Linked DNA regions of Homo sapiens: all the other regions are linked to region 4. Evidence: promoter capture Hi-C in 16 types of primary human blood cells and fetal thymus (Javierre and others, 2016). All regions are on one chromosome and are shown on one strand. The core of a region is centred on a gene start or on the middle of the fragment in contact, and the rest is flanking DNA. Distances in the headings are between cores, read along the strand shown.

Region 1 (3,416 bases), core at 698-3,197, 280 kb before region 4:
ATTTCTCACAGTTCTGGAGGCTGGAAAGCCCAAAATCAAGGTACTGAAAAATTTGACATCTGGTGAGGGCCTGCTTCCCGGCTTGTAGACATCTAGCTGTATCCTCACATGGTCTCCTGTCTTGTAGTCTTTTAATGAGGACATCATGAAGGCCCCACCCTCCTGACCTAATCTAACCCTAATTATCTCCAAAGACCTCACCTCCAAATACCATCACACTGGGGATCAGGGCTTTAACATAGGGCTTTCAAGGGAGCACAAATACTCAATCCATACCAACTATCAATTACAAAATAAGTAAAATTCTTTCTAAAATACAAATCTTAGCCAGGTGCGGTGGCTCATGCCTATAATCCCAGCACTTTGGGAGGCCAAGGCAGGTGATCACGAGGTCAGGAGTTCGAGACCAGCCTGGCCAAAATGGTGAAACCCCGTCTCTACTAAAAATATAAAAATTAGCCAGGCGTGGTGGTGCGCATCTGTAATCCCAGCTACTCAGCAGGCTGAGGCAGGAGAATTGTTTGAACCCGGGAGGCAGAGGTTGCAATGCGCTGAGATTGTGCCATTGTACTCCAGCCTGGGTAACAAGAGCAAGACTCTGTCTCAGAAAAACAAGAAAGAAAGAGAGAGAGAGAGAGAGAGAGACCAGGAGTGGTGGCTCACGCCTGTAATCCCAGCACTTTGGGAGGCCGAGGCGGGTAGATCACAAGGTCAGGAGATCGAGACCATCCTGGCCAACACAGTGAAACCCCATCTCTACTAAAAATACAAAAAATTAGCCGGGTGTGATGGCGGGCGCCTGTAGTCCCAGCTACTCAGGAGGCTGAGGCAGGAGAATGGCGTGAACCCTGGAGGCAGAGCTTGCAGTGAACCGAGATGGCGCCACTGCACTCCAGCCTGGGCGACAGAGCGAGACTCCATCAAAAAAAGAAAAAGGAAAGAAAGAAAGAAAGAAAGAAAGAAAGAAAGAAAGAAAGAAAGAAAGAAAGAAAGAAAGAAGGAAGGAAGGAAGGAAGGAAGGAAGGAAGGAAGGAAGGAAGGAAGGAAGGAAGGAAGGAAGGGGAAGAAAGAAAGTAGGAAGGAAGGAAGGGGGAGGGGGAGGGAAGGAAGGAGGAAGGAAGGAAGGAAATCTTTTTCATTCTAAGTACCTTGGTTTGTGGCTCCATTAAATCTAAGAGATGTATAATTTTGTAGCCCTGGGACACGTACTTAGCTTCAGTGCTTTGGTTTTTTTGTTTTAAACTTCATTTTCAGTGACATCTCAGGCTTGATGCCATTTCTTATTAGGATGCCTTAGCCCAGAAATCCTCCCACGCCATGAACCTGTGATTCTGATACCTAGATTTTATTTCATCCAGCAGATATGTAGTGAGCACATGTGATGTGGTGAGCATTGGTCTGAATGCTGGAGATACACAGGGAACCAAAGAAACAAAGTCTCCTCACTGATGGAGCTTACACTGGAGGGTGGGGGACAATAAACACATCACTCAATAAAGTCTATAGCTTGGTAGATGGTGATAGTGCTCTGGAGAAAAACTAAGCAGGCTGGGTGAAAGTGAGCAAAGAATTTTTGTAAAAGTAGCTGAGGAGGACCTCATGAAGAATGGGATGTTTGAGCAATCATATAAAAGATGGGATAGGAAGTCACGCGGTATATGAGAAAGAGTGTTCTAGATAAAGGAGATAGTGCTCTAGGTCAGAGCAGAGGCTCTGAGTCAGGGGAACCATTTTCCAGTCATCAGATCCATTTGTGAAAGGAAAATAAATCTTAGAGCCCCAAAATCACTAAGCCAAAGGGAGAAGTCAAGCTGGAAACTGCTTAGGGCAAACCTGCCTCCCATTCTATTCAAAGTCATCCCTCTGCTCACTGAGGTAAATGCATATCTGATTGGAGAGGCTAATCAAAAACTCAAAAGAGGCCAAGCTCCATGGCTCACACCTGTAATCCTAACACTTTGGGAGACCTAGGTGGGATAGGAAGTGGATCCCCCCACTGACAGTGCTGGGTACATCAGATGACTTGAGGTCAGGAGTTCGAGACCAGCCTGGCCAAGGTGGTGAAACCCTGTCTCTACTGAAAATACAAAAATTAGCTGGGCATGGTAGCAGGCGCCTCTAGTCCCAGCTACTTGGGAGGCTGAGGCAGGAGAATCACTTGAACCCGGGAGGCAAAAGTTGCAGTGCTGAGATGGCGCCACTGCACCCCAGTGTGGGTGACAGAGTGAGACCCTGACTCAATTAAAGCAAACAAACAAAAAAACTCAAAAGAATGCAACTTTTTGTCCCTTATCTATCTATGGCCTGGAAGCCCCCTCCCCACTTTGAGTTGCCCCGCCTCTGCTTCCAATGGTCCGGCCTTTCCGGACTGAATCAATGTTCATCTTACATATATTGATTGATGTCTCATGTCTCCCTAAAGTGTGTGTGCAAAACCAAGCTGTGCTCGGACCACCTTGGACACACGTCGTCAGGACCTCCTGAGGCTGTGTCACTGGCATGTGTCTTTAACTTTGGCAAAATAAACTTCCTAAACTGACTGAGACCTGTCTCAGATAATCCGGGTTCACACATTCATTTGATATTAAAAGCCTACGTTTCTCCTGTTCATGAGAAAGAAAACTTGGTTTCTTCACCGATTCCTGATCCTTCACCTTGTGAAGATGGGATAGGAAGTGGATCCCCCTGCTGACAGTGCTGGGTACATCAGATCAAACACCATCCAGTTGTGCCAGGACAAAGGTCATCCAGCTCAAAGATGATTCTCTCAACCCTTATTCCATCATGCTAGTATTGCCAAGCTGTTTGTAACAAAGGTGAGAAAACAGCCCAGGAAGGAAGAAGCCCACGCACTGCAGTAGGGCTATCGGGGAAGTTTCAGAGTTCACCTCGGGTGGAGGTTTTGGCATCTAAACTGCAACAACTGGGCATGACAATCCTATCAGGCATCATACTCAACTCCGCCTGGATCCCCGAACCGGGCCCCACATACCTGTACACAAATCATCTGCTCCTGCCTCCCTTTCACATTTGGCAACCAGTATGTCCCACATGCTGTTCCAGGAGCAAGACATGCAATGATGCACATGACTGACAACACCCTTCTTTTGTGGCATTTATCCCCATTTGGGGGAAACAGCCAAAACCTGGTAAATGAGTGAACAAGATAATTTCACAGTGTAATGAGGGGTATAAGGAAAATCAACAGAGCAATGTGGTAGTCACCATTAGGGACAGAGGGGTGTCTTACTCAGATGTGATGGGGGCTTTGGAAGGCCAGGGAAGGCCTTCTGAGGAGCTGCCATTTGACCTGATAGTTGAGTATAAAAAGGGTTAGCCATCGGAAGGGTATACCAGATGGAAGGAGCAGTGAGGCCCTGCTGTGGGCAAGCGCTCCGTGCGTCTGACAAATAGAT
Region 2 (3,237 bases), core at 545-3,044, 310 kb before region 4:
TCAGAAATATTTTTAGTGATATTAATTCAAATATACCAAAATACATATTTTAGTAAGTGAAGACTTTATTAAAGTGTGGTTAAATATACTTCTATGTTGATGATACTTAGTAATCCTTTTTAGTCAACTATATTCAAATATTTTAGCTTTACAAGAAAATACGTAGTCTGATACATACAATTGCATGCTTATATTACAAACTACCAAAAATATCTCAAATTCTGAATTACTAACTTCAACAAAAGTGTATTCTGGGAACATTGATTTTTCACTTAATGTACCAGAAAGGAAGGAGAAATGGAAACTTCCAAGGAGATGAATGTGCATTAAGTTTATAATTTTAGAACTTACTCAAGGATTCTTTCATACTGTGATGTGAGGTCACCATGGGCAATCAGTTTTCATCTTTAAATGGTATCAGATGTGTACATGGATTGATTTCCTTTTTTAACAAAATTCCTATAGAATATAACAATATTAAAGAGGGAACTTTAAGTGAACCCCCACTTTTGGCCATAACTTCTTTTTGTGTCAGCCAGCAAGAGCCAAGAGAACATAACCAGGGTGGTAGGATGTAGCTAGATAAGCCTCTTTAAAGGCACAAGAGGCCACTTCTTCAACCAGATTTGCCAAAGCCCTTGGTTCAATGACCAGATAGGCCAACACGGGTAGTAGTGGGGTCATCAGCCCTAAATGCAGCTTTCTGGGCTACCTTCTAGGATGCTCTGGAGCTTGGAACTGTCCACCTGAAAGAGGGTTGAGGGAGGCTGGATGAATACAATATTTGGTCCACTGGATTTTCCTCATAACCCTTAGCCCCACACCTCCCAGCTCAGAGGGAGGGTTGCCTTGCCCATTTTATAAATCCTTGGCTACAGCTTTGATGATGATTCTGCAGTGCAGATGGTTAAAAATAGCCGCATGCGCCTCAGATGGGTTTGAAGAGTACATTTTGCTTTGCCCATGAAAAAAATGCTTCTCCACACATGTCTCTGCCCTGATAGATTCTCAGGCAAATTATCGGCTCCCTCCAAGGCAGTCGCCTGACTGTGAGTACACTAGCAATTTGAAAACAATAAATCTGCAGTGAGAAGTAGAATTCATCATACTAAATATCATTTTCCTAAATTCCTCATTTCAATTCTGTTAAAAAGGCCTCTTATTATTCGAATTAAAATTGTCAAAATACCGCTTCAAAAGTAGAGCAGAGAAAGAGAGACAAGCATCATCCAGTTTTATCTTTCAATCTTTTTGAAGCTCTATATTTACCTAATCACTCTCGTGAGAAGGGGGTTGCTTTGCAAAAAGCTTTCTTTGGAGAAATGCATTAAATCCTTCAAGCAATCAGGGCTATTTTTGTCTTTCTATATTAGACACACCCCAACAAGTATGGCAGTCTGCTGACATCTTCATCAGCCTGTTTCTTGCCTCTTTGTTATGGCAGCAGAGGGTGAAGCATGTTCTTCTGCACCCCTGACCAGCCCAAGCATCTTTTAAAGTTTCTAATTAAATCATGGCTGCTTATGCCCTTGGATATTTGTCATTTGCAAGGGAAACCATGGGGCTGATGTTTGTGTAGGTATTCCATATGTATTTTGAAATTTGGGTTTTTTATTAACACTTGAGATTAAAATAATTTTAATCCAGACATCTACCTAACCTGTGGAAATAATGCATGCTCTCCCTTCTTCTGGACTCAACTATAACTAACCAGCCTGACTGGCTTAAGATAACCTTTTCTCTTTCTCCTTCTTTTACTCTTCTCCCTTTCAAAAATAGACCAATATGTGACACAACCGTTCTCATTCTCATGTTTTCTATATTTTTGTATTGATGGTTTCTATTGCACAATAAGTGTGTATTGCAGGGTTTGATGATGTTTGGAAAATGGCACAAAAAAAAACAATATTGAGAGGCAAGGTCAGGGCAGTCTGTCTCCACAATTTTCACCATTGGAGCAGACCTCTCTTCCTTCCCTCAAATAACCCAGCTTCTTCCAGTTCTTATATTTCCTCTTCACCCACCCAGTGCCCTATCATTAAATGGCTTATCATTAAATGGCTAAGTCATCCCTTTTGAAGGTGTTGTTAAGTGATATCTCCTAGGTGTAGTAACATTTTTAAAAGGACAATCTTGAAGAAGAAAAGGGAGTGACCTTCAGACACACATTATCATCTCCTCCAACCCTGTCTGAGAAGTCAATGATAACTTGGAAACCACTTCTGAAAGTTTGCCAGTCATTGACAGAGTCCTTTTTACATCTTCTACTTTCAAAGCTTTTCTACACAGGTCACCCCTTTTGAACTTTCAAACAACCTAAAAGGCAGGTAAAGGATAATTATCACCAGCTTACCAAGAATGATGCTAAGTCACAAGAGATTAAATGAGTCCCCAAAGATCACACAGCTGGTTGGTGTCAGCATAGACACAGCAATCCTGGCTCTGCAAGCTCTCAAAATAAATTATTTTTCCCACCACAGAGACAGTGCTCAAATTTTATCCCTGGAAACTGATGGCCGCATGACACTTTTCATGAATGTCCTCCTATCTCTAATTACCTGCCTCTCTCAGTCCAAATAAGTTCCAGAACATAAAACCTAGCTTTTTCAGCTGACTCTCCCTAATACATAGGAATATAATGAGGGTACTTTTATTCTATCGTATAATATTTCTGCTATTAGTTGGTTAAGTGGTATTATATTGAGCCTCAGGATTGTACTAACCCTAGACTAAGAGGACACTTTAAATATCAAATAAGGAGCATAAAAAAAAAAATAAAAGAAACTAAAATTTATACTCCAGCCTCCCATTTGGGAAATACTCTTTCAAACTATTCTAAGGCTGAGTGTGGTGGCTCTCGCCTATAATCCCAACACTTTGGGAAGCCAAGACAGGAGGACCACTTGAGGCCAGGAGTTCAAGACCAGCCTGGGCAACATAGGGAGACCCCATCTCTACCAAAAATAAAAAATTAGCCAGGCATGGTGGTGCACGCCCACGGTCCTAGTTACTTGGGAGGCTAAGGTGGGATGATCACTTTAGCCCAAGAGGTCAAGGCTACAGTGAGCCATGATTGTGCCACTGCACTCCAGCCTGGGTCACAGAGTGAGGCTTTGTCTCTAAATAAATAAATATATACGTATTCTATTTTAAACTATTTTGTTCTTAAAGCACAGCTTCTGCTGTCATATTGGGAATAGTGGCTACCAGAGAAAGGAGGAGATGAACAGTGTGTGT
Region 3 (3,358 bases), core at 105-2,604, 260 kb before region 4:
GTAACCATTGCTGGTGGGTGTGTGTACTGGCTCAGATTTGGTGGGGTACAGAGGAGCCATCAATGAAAAACCTGTAAATGATGCATATCTATGATCCAGCAACACTTTTTTTTTTTTTTTTTTTGAGATGGAGTCTTGCTCTGTCGCCCAGGCTGGAGTGCAGTAGCGCAATCTCGGCTCACTGCAAGCTCCGCCTCCTGGGTTCACGCCATTCTCCTGCCTCAGCCTCCCAAGTACTTGGGATTATAGGTGTGTGCCACCACACCCAGCTAATTTTTGTTTTTTTTAGTAGAGATGGGGTTTTACCATGTAGCCTAAGCTGACCTCAAACTCCTGGGCTTAAGTGATTGGCTCACCTTGGCCTCCCAAAGTGCTGGGATTACAGGCGTGAGCCACCACACCTGGCCTGCTCCAGCAACACTTCTAAGGACGGTTTCTAAAGAAATGAGTGGATTGCTGCTCACATCTGTATGCACATGGATGTTTATAATAGTCATGCTTTGTAAACAACCTAGATGCCTAACCACAGAAAACTGTTTAAATTACTGCACATCCATGTAATGGAATACTATGCAGGGGTTTAAAATAATTGCATAGATATCTGCAAACATGAAAATATGTCCATGATACGTCATGATTAAAAAATAAGGTTCCTGGTCAAGTACCATGGCTCACGCCTGTAATCCCAGCATTTTGAGAGGCCAGGGCGGGCAGATCTCTTGAGCCCAGGAGTTCAAGACCAGCCTGGGCAACATGGCGAAACCTCATCTCTACAAAAAATACAAAAATTAGCTGGGCACGGTGGTGTGCACCTGTAGTCCCAGCTACTCAGGAGGCTGAGGTGTGAGGATTGCTGGAGCCAGGGAGGTAGAAGCTGTAGTGAGCCAAGATTGCACCACTGCACTCCCGCCTGTGTGACAGAATGAGACCCTGTCAAAAAAAAAAAAAAAAAAAGCTCCTAAAGTGCAATTTTAAAAAACAAATGATTACTTATAGCGAAAAGACTAGAGGACACATGCAAATGTGTACAGTATTTATCTCTGGGTAATAGAACTATGGGTGTTTTTCATTTTCTTCTTTTACACCTTTATGTAATGTGTTAATATTTTATCATTAGGGAAAAAAACAGCAAAGCTATTTTCAGCTTGAAATGAAAAAAGGTTGATAAAGGGGATTGGGGCTTAGGTGATTAAAGGCAAGCATGTGAGTCAGACATGGCCTCCCAGCCCCTGCCGGACTGTTGCGCTGTCGCCGGACACTCAAGTTGCTATCAGGAGCACTTTTCTCTGTCAAAGTGACTGGCTTTTGTCATGCAATCCCCAAGTTATAATGGGAGGGTAGGATAGGCCCCAGAGCAGTCAGCTGAGCCAGCCCCGCTCAGTGAGTCTGTCCTCTGGGGCTCGCCATGCCCCCAGCCTCCGCATGGGGAACACCATCAGGGCCCTCGTGGCCTTCATCCCTGCTGACCGTTGCCAGAACTATGTGGTCAGGGACCTCCGTGAGATGCCGCTGGACAAGATGGTGGATCTGAGTGGGAGCCAGTTACGCCGCTTCCCCCTGCACGTGTGCTCCTTCAGGGAGCTGGTCAAGCTCTACCTGAGCGACAACCACCTCAATAGCCTGCCTCCGGAGCTGGGGCAGCTACAGAACCTGCAGATTCTGGCCTTGGATTTCAACAACTTCAAGGCTCTGCCCCAGGTGGTGTGCACCTTGAAACAGCTCTGCATCCTCTACCTGGGCAACAACAAACTCTGCGACCTCCCCAGTGAGCTGAGCCTGCTCCAGAACCTCAGGACCCTGTGGATCGAGGCCAACTGCCTCACCCAGCTGCCGGATGTGGTCTGTGAGCTGAGTCTCCTTAAGACTCTGCATGCCGGCTCCAACGCCCTGCGTTTGCTGCCAGGCCAGCTCCGGCGCCTCCAGGAGCTGAGGACCATCTGGCTCTCGGGCAACCGGCTAACTGACTTTCCCACTGTGCTGCTTCACATGCCCTTCCTGGAGGTGATTGATGTGGACTGGAACAGCATCCGTTACTTCCCCAGCCTGGCGCACCTGTCAAGTCTGAAGCTGGTCATCTATGACCACAATCCTTGCAGGAACGCACCCAAGGTGGCCAAAGGTGTGCGCCGTGTGGGGAGATGGGCAGAGGAGACGCCAGAGCCCGACCCTAGAAAAGCCAGGCGCTATGCGTTGGTCAGAGAGGAAAGCCAGGAGCTACAGGCACCAGTCCCTCTACTTCCTCCTACCAACTCCTGAGGAGCTTCAGTTGCAAGTCAATGCCAAGGACCCAACTGCAGCATGTTCTGGAAGCCTCTCCATTGGAGTGGAAAGGATGGCTCTGGGTCATTTGGGAGTGGCTCTGCTAGTAGAGACTGATGGAGAGAGCCAGGTGGAATGCCATAAATCACACTGAGAAAATATTTCTGGCAAACAGCTCCTCTTCCAGAGGGGAGTTGTGTGCCAATGATGGCATGACAATCCAGAGATCATAACTTCTTTGCAAGAAAACAGCTTCTCCACACATGTATTTTGAAACACTGAAGAGCAAAAGGGGCTGGGACACTCTGAACTCCTGCACTCTCCAGAAGTGACTGGTCATGAAGCTCATGAGCTCCTCAAATAAGGTATTTGCCATAGAACTAAATATTCTGGTGGTCTGTCTCTTTGCAGGACATATTTTCTTTACTGTAAATGACCATAAACAGTATCAATGTATCACTGAGGCCACCGAAAAGGACATTTCTACCTAGGCAATCAGTCAGATTCACAGAAAAAAGTTGTTTGTTGTTGTAAAGGCTCAAGATGAAACTCTTTCCCCAGCAGTTTAGTGCCTGCTGAAAAGATCCCTGATGGACAATACTTCTTGGTGGACTCCAGCTGCCCCTTTTATTATTATTAGAGACAAGGTCTCACTCTGTTGCTAGGCTGGAGTGCAGTGGCACAATCATGGCTCACTGCAGCCCCGAACTACTGGGCTCAAGCCTTCCTCCCGCCTCAGCCTGCCCAGTAACTGGTACTACAGATGTGCACACCTGGCTAAGTCTTTAATTTTTTCGTAGAGATGAGGTCTTGCTATGTTGCCCAAGCTAGTTTCAAACTCCTGGGCTCAAGCGATGCTCCTGCTTCAGCCTCCCAAAGTGCTGGGGTTACAGGCATGAGCCACCACACCCAGCCTTCAGCTGTCACCTTAAACTTGACAGTGGCTCATGCTGATTTAGTTCATTTTCCCTAAAAGGTTTGTCCCAAGATCTGCTCCCAACAGTTGACTGTCACTGACAATGTTGGAAGTCATCTGGAAAAGAGAACCTCTGTGGTAATGTGGTCTCATTAAAGTCAAGCCTTGTTGTGATTCCTGTCT
Region 4 (3,000 bases), core at 65-2,564:
AGAAATTTTCTTATAATATCTAAAGGTGAATTTGGATATCAAGTTAGAATCTTGAAAACAAGACTATTCCGTGATTTCATCCCTTCACTCATTCATTCAAAAATAGCTATTGAGGGGAAATGTCTGAATTCAATCTGAAAACTACAGAGATTATTACATCGACAACTATGTACTAAACTATAAAATAACTTTTCCTCATGGCACATCTTGAATTGTGTGGGAGAAAATGAAAGATAGTTAATCAAGTAGAGTAGATAAAAATAATAAAACATTTCATGCTGAGTTTCTGGGATCCTATACAAAGAGTGACTGAAGGGAACTAGGTTCCTACTGCTCTTGTGTAGGGAATTCAATATATTCTTTAAAAACATCACTGTTAAAAATCCCATGTCGGCTGGGTGCAGTGGTTCACACCTGTAATCCTACCACTTTGGGAGGCTGAGGTGGGCAGATCATTTGAGGCCAGGAGTTCAAGACCAGCTTGGCCAACATGGTGAAACCCCATCTGTACTGAAAATACAAAAAATTAGCTGGGTGTGGTGGTACACACCTGTAGTCACAGCTACTCAGAAGGCTGAAGCACGAGAATCACTTGAGCCCAGAAGGCAGAGGTTGCAGTGAGCTGAGATCATGCCACTGCACTCCAGCCTGGGCCACACAGTGAGACTGTCTTTAAAAATAAAATAAAATAAAATAAAAATAAAAATAAAAATCCCACATCACGGCAGGGGACTTGAAGACAAGAAAAATACTGCATCACTCTAGGCTCTCAGAGCCCAAGTTCAAAATGGGAAATAACTGGAGTCACATACCAAGGACTTGAGAGAGCTCTGCCAGGTCCTCAAATGTATCTTTCAGTCAGCTTACATGTGCCATTGAATCTCAGGCACCCAGCAAACTTCCTAGCACTAGAACAGTACAACAGGTCCTGTTTTACTTAGAATGGAATTTTCCCCTGCCATGCCCGTATTCCTTTATCGGGTATCTCTGGTTATAAAGAACCAAACTGATGTTTTTAGCCATTGTAAGTATACAAACCCACAAAGAAATAAAACATCTATTCACTCAAAGCCCCTTCTTCTTCTTCCTTCTCTCCTAGTGTCTGTTCCATACGTAGCTAATTCTCTGGAATTATGGAGAGTAGACTTACAGTTTGCTAGGCTGATTCCCCTGTAGCCATCCATTCCCAATCTTTTCAGAGTTCTGGCCAACTCACACCTTTCAAAGACCTTGCCCTGGACCGTAACAGAAAGGAGGACAAGCCCCAGAACAATGAGAGCCTTCATGTTGACTGCTAGGTCAGAGTGCTAGGCTGACCAGGGTGAGCTGGCCCCAGTATTTAACATCTTTTAACTTCCTTCTTCCCCTTGTGGTTTGGGGGCTCCACCCTTTCAGTTGTGTGGAAAACAGGAACTGTCTATTGATCCACTGACTCTAAAGAGATTTTTTTAATGCTTGAAGAGAGATATGCTGATGTCCTAAGAATTAGTCTACAGGAAAATAATGAAATGGAATTGTTTAAAGTACTGGCTCTGGAAGAATTGGGGCATAGCACTACTTCCAAGACAGGAACTTTCTTCTGTTTGATTATGAATTTGAGCAATTATAAAGAAAAAAATGACTATTTTGTGCAGCTTAAAATGAGCTGTGATTTTTGAGTAACATTCAATTTTGTGAAATTGTTTTGTATGCATTCACTTTTTTATATTTATCTTTTTTACTTAAAATTATTTTACATATCTTTTCCACAAAATGGACATGACACATGTGCCTGTTGTCTTAATGGGTGTATAGTGTGACACCACGTTGCTCAGCTAGTTTCTTACTCTAGACTCTTTTTGTTACTATAGCAAATTTTTTATTATTATAAATCAGTGTTTTACTATTATAAATAAGGTTCATGTGAACAACTTTACCAACTACCTTTTTTTTTTTTTTTTTGAGATGGAGTCTTACTCTGTCACCAGGCTGGAGTGCAGTGGCGCAATCTCAGTTCATTGCAACCTCTGCCTCCCGGGTTCAAGCAATTCTCCTGCCTCAGCCTCCCAGGTAGCTGGGACTACAGGCATGTACCACCATGCCCAGCTAATTTTTGTATTTTTAGTAGAGACAGGGTTTCACCATGTGGCCAGGATGGTCTGGATCTCTTGACCTCGTGATCCGCCCGCCTCGGCCTTCCAAAGTGCTGGGATTACAGGTGTGAGCCACCACATCCGGCCTACTTTACCAACTACTTTTCACAATACTTTGCCTCCCCTTTCCATATTAGAACATAAGGGGTCATTAGAAAGCAACAGCATTTTAAAAATAAAACCTACCCAAACATATATCCAACTAAATGCTACCTTTGAAAATAGCAATCTCAGGAGGCTGTGCACAGCTTTTAAAACAATGCTACCAGAACTCAAAAAGAACTGCACTTCTGTATCTGCCTAAGAGGACAGATTCTGAGCCACACAAAGTGTCATCACTTTGTAGTTACCCTTATTTTTCATCAGTGGCCTCTAAAGATTACCAGATTTGGTTTTAAATGACAGTTCAAGGACCCTGTTCAAAAATCAAGAATAATCTCATTTTTCAGGCTAGGCCTAATTTTGATTCTTCAATAATAAATAGGGCCAGGTGCAGTGGCTCATGCCTGTAATCCCAGCACTTTGGGAGGCTGAGGTGGGTGGATCACCTGAGGTCAGGCGTTCAAGACCAGCCTGGCCAACATGGTGAAACTCCGTCTCTACTAAAAATACAAAATTAGCTGGGCGTGGTGGTGCGCCTATAATTCCAGCTACTTGGGAGGCTGAGGCAGGAGAATTACTTGAACCCGGGAGGCGGAGGTTGTGGTGAACTGAGATCACACCACTGCACTCCAGCCTGGGCAACAGAGTGAGACTCTGTCTCAAAAAAAAAAAAAAAAAAAAGAAAGAAAAAAAAAATGGCCAGCTGCGGTGGCTCATGCCTGTAATCCCAGCACTTTGAAAGCCCAAGGCAGGCTGATCACCTGAG

What was found. The method cuts DNA at HindIII sites, captures the fragments that hold promoters and counts their contacts. A CHiCAGO score of 5 or more calls a contact.
Region 1: a contact is called between a fragment that was not itself captured here and the fragment with the promoter of LYZ in region 4, in 9 of 17 cell types (activated CD4 T cells, naive B cells, total CD8 T cells and 6 more). The highest score is 8.3, in activated CD4 T cells.
Region 2: a fragment that was not itself captured here is called in contact with the fragment with the promoter of LYZ in region 4 in 2 of 17 cell types (erythroblasts and activated CD4 T cells); the score reaches 5.4 in erythroblasts.
Region 3: a contact is called between the fragment with the promoter of LRRC10 here and the fragment with the promoter of LYZ in region 4, in 11 of 17 cell types (activated CD4 T cells, naive CD8 T cells, non-activated CD4 T cells and 8 more). The highest score is 8.8, in activated CD4 T cells.

The regions. Positions count from the first base shown.
Region 1 is chr12:69,629,687-69,633,102 of GRCh38, reverse strand. The region is part of intron 2 of LOC105369823 (a long non-coding RNA gene); the gene reads right to left. Among named protein-coding and RNA genes, the nearest start is that of LRRC10, 20 kb to the right of the region's middle. The HindIII fragment of the contact is 8,060 bases long and covers 1-3,416 here.
Region 2 is chr12:69,659,255-69,662,491 of GRCh38, reverse strand. All of the region lies in intron 9 of BEST3 (bestrophin 3), which reads left to right. All of the region lies in intron 3 of LOC105369823 (a long non-coding RNA gene), which reads right to left. Among named protein-coding and RNA genes, the nearest start is that of BEST3, 38 kb to the left of the region's middle. The HindIII fragment of the contact is 968 bases long and covers 1,311-2,278 here.
Region 3 is chr12:69,608,903-69,612,260 of GRCh38, reverse strand. It overlaps LRRC10 (leucine rich repeat containing 10), which reads left to right and starts at 1,354. Exons shown (of 1, transcript NM_201550.4): 1 at 1,354-3,358. The coding sequence starts at 1,423. The coding sequence ends at 2,256. The HindIII fragment of the contact is 9,863 bases long and covers 1-3,358 here.
Region 4 is chr12:69,346,695-69,349,694 of GRCh38, reverse strand. LYZ (lysozyme) reads right to left here and starts at 1,314. Exons shown (of 4, transcript NM_000239.3): 1 at 1,151-1,314. The coding sequence starts at 1,286. The HindIII fragment of the contact is 11,988 bases long and covers 1-3,000 here.